Linked DNA regions of Homo sapiens: region 1 is linked to region 2. Evidence: promoter capture Hi-C in human tissues and cell types (Jung and others, 2019). All regions are on one chromosome and are shown on one strand. Each heading gives the region's core, a stretch centred on a gene start or on the middle of the fragment in contact. The rest is flanking DNA. Distances are from core to core; before and after follow the strand shown. Region 1 has its middle 8.1 kb from the start of PATE1. Region 2 holds the start of PATE3 (prostate and testis expressed 3).

Region 1 (3,779 bases), core at 279-2,778, 50 kb after region 2:
TAGAACTAGTGTGTGGAGCAACAAACACTCATTAGACTGGCAAAACATGGCATGTTCAAAGGGTAGCAGTGTCCCAGCCACTGACACCTCTAACTTATCATATATCTTTTAATTTTGTGCTTCTTTCCATTGAGAAATATCAAATACATACGAAGTACACAAAACATACGTAAATTTAAAAAACTATAAATAACATTTATGCAGTACTTACTAAGTCCACTGTTATGTCTTTATTTTTATTTTTTGCTTAACATTTTTTTTTTTTAGTACATGTCAGAAAAGTTTTATTATTCTTGAGTGTAATATCAAGAAACAAGCGTTTGCAATTTTATACACAACTATTTCTAGTTACCTGTTCCTTATTTATGTGAAGTTGAAAACATAGTGTAATTTTTAATATTCTCTCTTCCTTCTCCTTCCTCACACTAATGTTTTATTAATATTATTTTAAATTGATGAATCATAATTGTATACATTTGTGGGGTTCAGTGTGATGTTTTGAAATATATATACAATGTGGGGTGATCAAATCAAGCTAATTAACATCACCTTGCTTATTATTTTCTATAGCGAGACATTTGAGATTTACTCTCTTAGCTATTTTGAAATGTACAAAATATTATTGTTGAATATAGTCACCTTGCTGTGCAATAGATCTCAAAACTTATTCCTCCTATTTACTTGAAACTTTGTACCCTTTAATCAACAACTCCCCATTCCTTTCCTCCTCAGCATGCCAGCCTCTGGTAACTATCATTCTACTCTCCACTTCTACTAATTCAACTTTTTAAGATTTCACATATAATTGAGATCATGTGGTATTTGTTTTTCTGTGCCTGGCTTCCTTCATTTAGCATAACATCCTTCAAATACATTCATGTTGTCACAAATGGTAGAATTTTCTTCTTTTTTTTAAGGCTGAAGGGTATTCCATTGTGTGTGTATGTGTGTGTGCATGTGCCTCACGGTTTCTTTGTCCATTCACCTTTCAATGGACAGTTATGTTGATTTGATAGTTCATCTACTGTGAATAATGCTGCAATAAACATGAAAGTGCAGATATCTCTTTGAGAAACTGATTTCATTTCCTTTGAATATGTACCCAAAAGAGGGATTTCTGGAACATATGGTAGTTCTATTTTAATTTTGTGAGTAACCTCCATAGTGTTTTCCATTATGAGCATACTAATTTATATTCCCACTAACAGTGCACAAGTGTTCCCATTTCTCCACATCCTCCCCAAAACTTACCTTTTGTCTTTTTGATAATAGCAATTCTAATAAAAGTGTGAGGTTATATCTCATTGTTGTTTTGATTGGCGTTTCCCTGATGGTTACTGATGCTGAGCATTTTTTCATAACTTTCTGGTTATTCGTATATCTTCTTTTGAGAAATACCAATTCTGCTCTTTTGCTCATTTTTAATTAGGTTGTTTGTTTTCTTGCTATTGAGTTGAGTTCCTTGTAAACTTTGGATGTTAACTCCTTGTCAGGTATAAATGTTTTATAAATATTTTCTCCCATTTTGTAGATTGTCTCATTACTCTGCTGTTTCCTAGCAGTAAAGAAGCATTTTCATTTGGTGCAATCTCATTTGTCTATTTTTATTGCCTGTACTTTTAGGATCATACACAAAATTAATTGCCCAGACCAGTGTCAAGAAGATTTTTTCCTCTGATTTCTTCTGGTAATTTTACAGTTTTAGGTCTTATGATTAAGTCTTTACTGAATTTTGAGTTTTAAAAAAAATATATAGTGTAAGAAAGGGTTCAATTTATGCTTCTGCATGTGAATATCTGGTTCTCCCAACACCATTTATTGAAGAGACTGTCCTTTCCCTGTTTTGTGTTCTTGGCATCTATGTCAAAGATCAATTGACTATAAATGCATGAATTTATTTCTGGTCTCTCTACTCTGTTTCATCAATTTAAATGTCTGTTTTTATGGCAATAATGTGCTGTTTTGATTACTATTACTTTGATTTTTTGGGCTTCATGGATCTGAATGTTCATTTTCCTCTTCGAATTTGGGACATTTTCTGTCATTGTTTATTTAAATAAGCTTTCTGCTCATTTCTTTTTTTCCATTCCTCTGGAATTCCTATAATATCAGTTTACTTGGTGGCATCCCATAAGTCCCATAGGATTTCTAAACTTTTTTTCATTCTTTTTTCTTTTTGTTTCTCTGACTAGGTAATATCAAATAACCTGTCTTTAAGCTTACTGATTCTTCTGCTGGATTGATTCTGCTGTTAAAGCTTTCTGTGAAAATTTGTAATGCTGTAATTCTGTTTTTAGCTCTAGAATGTATTTGGTTCTTTTTTTTAGGGGTTTCTATCTCTTTGTTGAACTCCTAATTTTGTTCATGTATTATTTTTCTGATTCTATTTAGTATCTATTTTTGTCCTGTTGTCACTCATTGAGTTTCTTTAAGATAATTAGTTTGAATTCTTTGGCAGTTCGTAGATCCCTTTTTCTTTAGGCTCAGTTACTGATATTTTATTTTATTGTTTTGTTTTGGTAGTGTCATGTTTCCTTGATTATTCATAATCCATTTGGCCATATGTTGAAATCTGAACGTTTGAAGAAGTAAGCACCTATTCTAGTTTTTACAGACTGATTTTGACAGGGAAAGCCCTTTATCAGTTAGCCTTTCCAGAGATTCTAGGCAGGCTTTCTAGCAGGATTTGTGGGGGCAGGCTTGCTATTGAAGTCCTTGAAAAGGCTCTCCTGGACCTAAATGTTTTTTCCCATTCTGTGACTTGTTTTCTATTTTCTCGATAGTGCCTTTTGAAGTATAATACTAAAGTTTTTTATTTTGATGAAGTGTATTTTATCTATTTTTTGTTATTACTGTTGCTATGCTTTCAGGGTCATAACTAAGGCCATTATCTAATCCAGTGCCATGAATATTTATGCCTATATTTTCTTCTAGTAATGTTATAGTTACAGTTCTTAGATTTAGGCCTTTGATCCACTTTAACTTAATTTTGTGTATAGTGTAAAGCAGGAGTCCAACTTTATTCCTTCCCATGTGCATATCCAGTTTCCCTCGCATCATTTGTTAAAAAGACTATTTTCCCTATTGAATGGTCTTAACACCGTTTTCAAAAGTCAATTGACTATAATATAAAGATTTATTTTTAGACTCTCAATTCTATTCCATTGATCTAAAAGTCTATTCATATGCTAGCACCACACTATTTTTGTTACTATATGTAGCTTTGTACTATATTTTTAAATTGGAAAAGGGTATGTCCTTCAAATTTGCTCTCCTTTTGACAGATTGTTTTGGGTATTCTAGGCCCTTGCATTTCCATATGATTTTTAGTATCAGTTTGTCAATTTTTGCAAAAATAAAAACTGAGGTTTTGATAGGGATTGCACTGAATCTCAAGATTGCTTTGGGGAATATTGCCATGTTAACAATGCTAAGTCTTCCAATCCATGAACAAAGAATTTATTTACATTTATTTCTGTCTGTTTTAATTTCTTTCAGTGACTTGTAGCTTTCAGTGTAAAAGTCTTGTACTTCTGTTAACATTATTCATAACTATTTTATTCTTTTTGATGCTTATTAATTGGATATTTCTTTAAAAATTTATTCTCAGATTGTTCATTGCTAGTGTATAGAAATATAATTAATTTTTGCCTGTTAATCTTGTATCCTTCAACTTTGCTGAATTGATTTATTAGCTCTCATGGTTTTTTTGTGTGAATGCCTTAGGATTTTCAATATAAAAGATTATGTTATCTCTAAATACAGATGGTTTTACTTTA
Region 2 (3,655 bases), core at 725-3,224:
CATGACATTAACTTATTCTTTAGCTCCTATACATGATTAAGAACATGGGATATTTGTCTTTCTGGGCCTGGCTTATTTCATTTAATATAATGACCTCCAGGCTCACCTCTGTTTCTGCAAAGGACAGAATTTCATTTATTTTTATGGTTGAATAATATTCTATTGTGTGTATATACCATATTTTCTTTATTGTATATTTCAAAATAGCTAGAAGAGAACATATAGAATGTTCTCAATACAAAGAAATGATAAATGTTTGAGGTGATGAATATCCAGTTACCCTGATTTGATCATTACACATTGAAGGCTTGTATGAAAAATCACATATACTCATAAATATGAACAATTGTTATGTGTCGATTATCAAAAAAAAATCTGTTTGGTCAGTTTTCTTGGAAATATAGAATCCCCAAGTTCTCCCTCCTGTCTCATTGACCCAAATTATCTTCTGTCTGTATGCACAGGGACCTGTGCTACCACCTGTGCTCAGGGGCATTCTGCATTGGTTCTTCTCTTGAGATGTGAAATTGCTGAAGCACTATCCTAAGAATTCTAAGAATCTTACAACACCTTCCCTGACCCTCTAACTTACGCTGGTAAATCCTTAAGAGCATGCATGCCTCGCCCTTCTGAGCAGTACAGACACCAAAGCCTCTTCTACAGCGGTCTGTCCGTGTGCGAAGGTGGCATGTTATGCACTGAAGTGATGTCACTGCTGGAGAGAGCATAGAGATGGTGTGAGACTAGGCAAAAGCAGGGACTTGGGATGGAGTTAGAAATATTCAGATGGAGGTGGGGAATGAATAGTGGAGGGGGCAGGCAGATGAAGAGCTACTGGTTGGGGTATTTAGGCGGTAAACAGTTGGAGCTCTTATCAACTCCTCATTTCAGAGTAATAAAAAGAAAATGTCACCAAAGGATTCTGACCCCACCTTCAGCCCTTTTAACCTGGATAACTTTAAGCAAAAAGTTAGCCTCCATGTCATTGACTTCTCTAGCTTAAAAATGGTGCTATGAATGCTAGCCTGGCCTACTAGAGATATGGGTGTGATAAGGAGGGTGAGGGCTTTAAAACATTTCACCAAAGCTATTGTTACTATTGTTAGGTGATATATTCTGTTCTTTTGAGCTTCAATCTGAATCTACATAAAGGCATCATCAATAATAGTACCATAAGTGACACTTTTATGAGGTTCTGCGGGGTGAGCTATTCAAAATACAGGTTTAATTTAAAAAAATTTCCCTAGTGCACCTGAATGAGAAAGGAAAGTAGCAATGATTGAGCATCCCATTTGGGCCATGTTCTCTCAAGTTGCATCCGATTTAATCCTCGCAAAAGCCTTGTAAGCAGGCACCATTGTCCCCATTTCTTGAATGAGCAACCAAAGGTACAGAGATTTTGAGACCGTGACTACAAACCATGAAAAAAATCTGTCTGATTCCAGAGCATTCAGTACTTCCTCTCATAGAATTACTTGTTGTAATATAAAGTCTCTGAAAAGGGTATCAAAAGCCATTGTTCACTCCTAAAATAAACTGAAAATTATTCATTATAGACTGACCAGCTCCATCAACAAATGGGATATAGGTTTACAAATAAAAAGGATGTCCTAAGGAAAATCTTGCCAGGGCTTGGGATTATGGGGAATGGTAGGGACAGAGGGAGAAAATGAGTTAAAAGGGCAGGACAGAGGCCTGCCCATCTGGAGGAGAATGGCAGGAGGCTGAAAAGGATGGAAGAGTTGTCAGGGAAGGCAGAGGAGCATTCTGGAGGCTGGCTTCCCCTGGCTCATAAAAGTGGCCAAAGCTCAGCCCTGCATGGATGCATGCTACACATGTAGTTTCCCTGGAGCTCCCTAGATCCTGTCTCTCAAGTATACCCCTCAGGTCCAGGACTCACCCACAATGAGGCAGTAAAGGAGGAAGAGGAACAAGAAGTGTTTGTTCATCCTGACCCGGAAATCCCTTGTGCAGGAAAAAGAAGCTAGGGGCTGCAAGCACAGGTCTTTAGGCTCCAGAGAGAAAACTTTCTTCTTCGTCAGAGGCTAGTGATTATTCATGCCTAGGGAGAGCCTGTCACACAAGGTTTCCTCTTGGAGCTCAAGTTCATTGGCTGTCCTCCTCAAGGCAGAGAAAAAAGAAAATTAATAAATGTTGAGGTTTGCATGGAGCTAACCTTTTTAAAAACATATACTTTTGATATTATTATTCTTATCCCAATTTCAAGAGGAGGAAACTGAGGCTTGTTGAGGTTCCAGAAGCTTACCCCAGGTCACATATCCAGTGAGATAGTGCTGTTACTCAAAGTATGACTTCCTAATTCTAGAGTCCACGTTTCACCACCGTGATTCAATGCCTCTCTGAGATTTATTCATACATTCAACAAATATTTGTTGAGAAATTGTATATACAACACAGTTACATGAGTAAGACCAAGCAATGAATAAGGCAGACAAGCTCACCTGGCTCCTCACATTATGGGTAAGAAACCAGAGAGTGAGAGAGGAAAAGATATATAGTCTGTGACCAAGCTTGACCTTCCACTAGAACGTTTGATTCTCAGTCGAGAACTCTTCTACTTACAAGAAATCTGTCCTTCAAGGCCAGCGACTGTTTACTTTGTAGAGCCATTAAATCCTCTCTAGAATTATTCCATGACTTGATCTTTAGCAAATTTATATTTTGAATCTGGCTAGTTTTTTGTTCATGATTTAGATGTCTATCTTTATGAAAGCTAACTCAGTTAAGATTCACTATGGGTAAAGTACTAGAAAACCATGACCACTCCTGGCATTCTAAGTCTCCTAAACCACCAGCCCAATGGCTGATGGTGCTTGGTTAGAGATACTAGAAGTATTCCATATTAAACTGATTTAACAACATGTTCTTTAGTTGTAGGAATGATATGATCATTGAAATATATTGAGTCTGACATTTTTTAGACATCAGATGAAGATTGGGTAAAATATGATCTTATGTTAAGTGTCACAAAATTTACAATGTTTCTTCTCTATGAACAAACAGAATACGGAGCCCACCTTTGCCTAAGAAGAGAGCAAGAAGTCTTAGACACTTACACATGAGGGAGCTGGTTCCTTTGAAATAATAGATTCCAGAATGGAGAGTAAGGTTGTGAGGCCTTTGGATCTAGTTTTCTACTCTGCCATATTTTAGAAGAGGGTGTTGAACACTGGATAGCATTTTTGAGAACATTCCCAGGCTTATCAAGAAGACAAACTTCTGAGCCTTTGCAGCCTGGACTTACCAAGTTATTAGGGTATTTCATTTGTCACTTGTTTCCTCTGCTTTATCCTCTATTTAAAAATTACCTGCTGGGTATAATGTTCACTCTTCAGGTGATGGGTGCACTAGATGCCCAAACTTTACCATTTGACTATCTGTCCACATAATAAGCCTATGTATGCACTCCCTGAATCTATAAAAATAAATATAAAACATAAGAAAATAGAGAGAGGGAGCAGCACTAGAATCAGAGCAAAAGAAGCAGACATTCTAGGTTAAACTGTGGTGGAGTTTTTTTCTTCTTCCTTCAAGGTTCTCCTTGGCAGATGCCTTCTGAAAGGCCAATTGTGTTTTGAATCTCCATTGTACTGATTATTTCCAGTTAAGATTGTAGAATTTTGCAACTCTACCC

The links. Contacts are between HindIII fragments. The study calls those that stand out against the background at their distance.
Region 1: a fragment that was not itself captured here is called in contact with the fragment with the promoter of PATE3 in region 2 in 2 of the 25 tissues and cell types used here (mesenchymal stem cells and mesendoderm cells).

What each region holds. Positions count from the first base shown.
Region 1 is chr11:125,736,302-125,740,080 of GRCh38, reverse strand. No RefSeq gene overlaps it. Among named protein-coding and RNA genes, the nearest start is that of PATE1, 8.1 kb to the left of the region's middle. The HindIII fragment of the contact is 3,360 bases long and covers 1-3,208 here.
Region 2 is chr11:125,786,446-125,790,100 of GRCh38, reverse strand. PATE3 (prostate and testis expressed 3) reads right to left here and starts at 1,974. Exons shown (of 3, transcript NM_001129883.4): 1 at 1,901-1,974; 2 at 593-715. The coding sequence starts at 1,949. The HindIII fragment of the contact is 11,927 bases long and covers 1-3,655 here.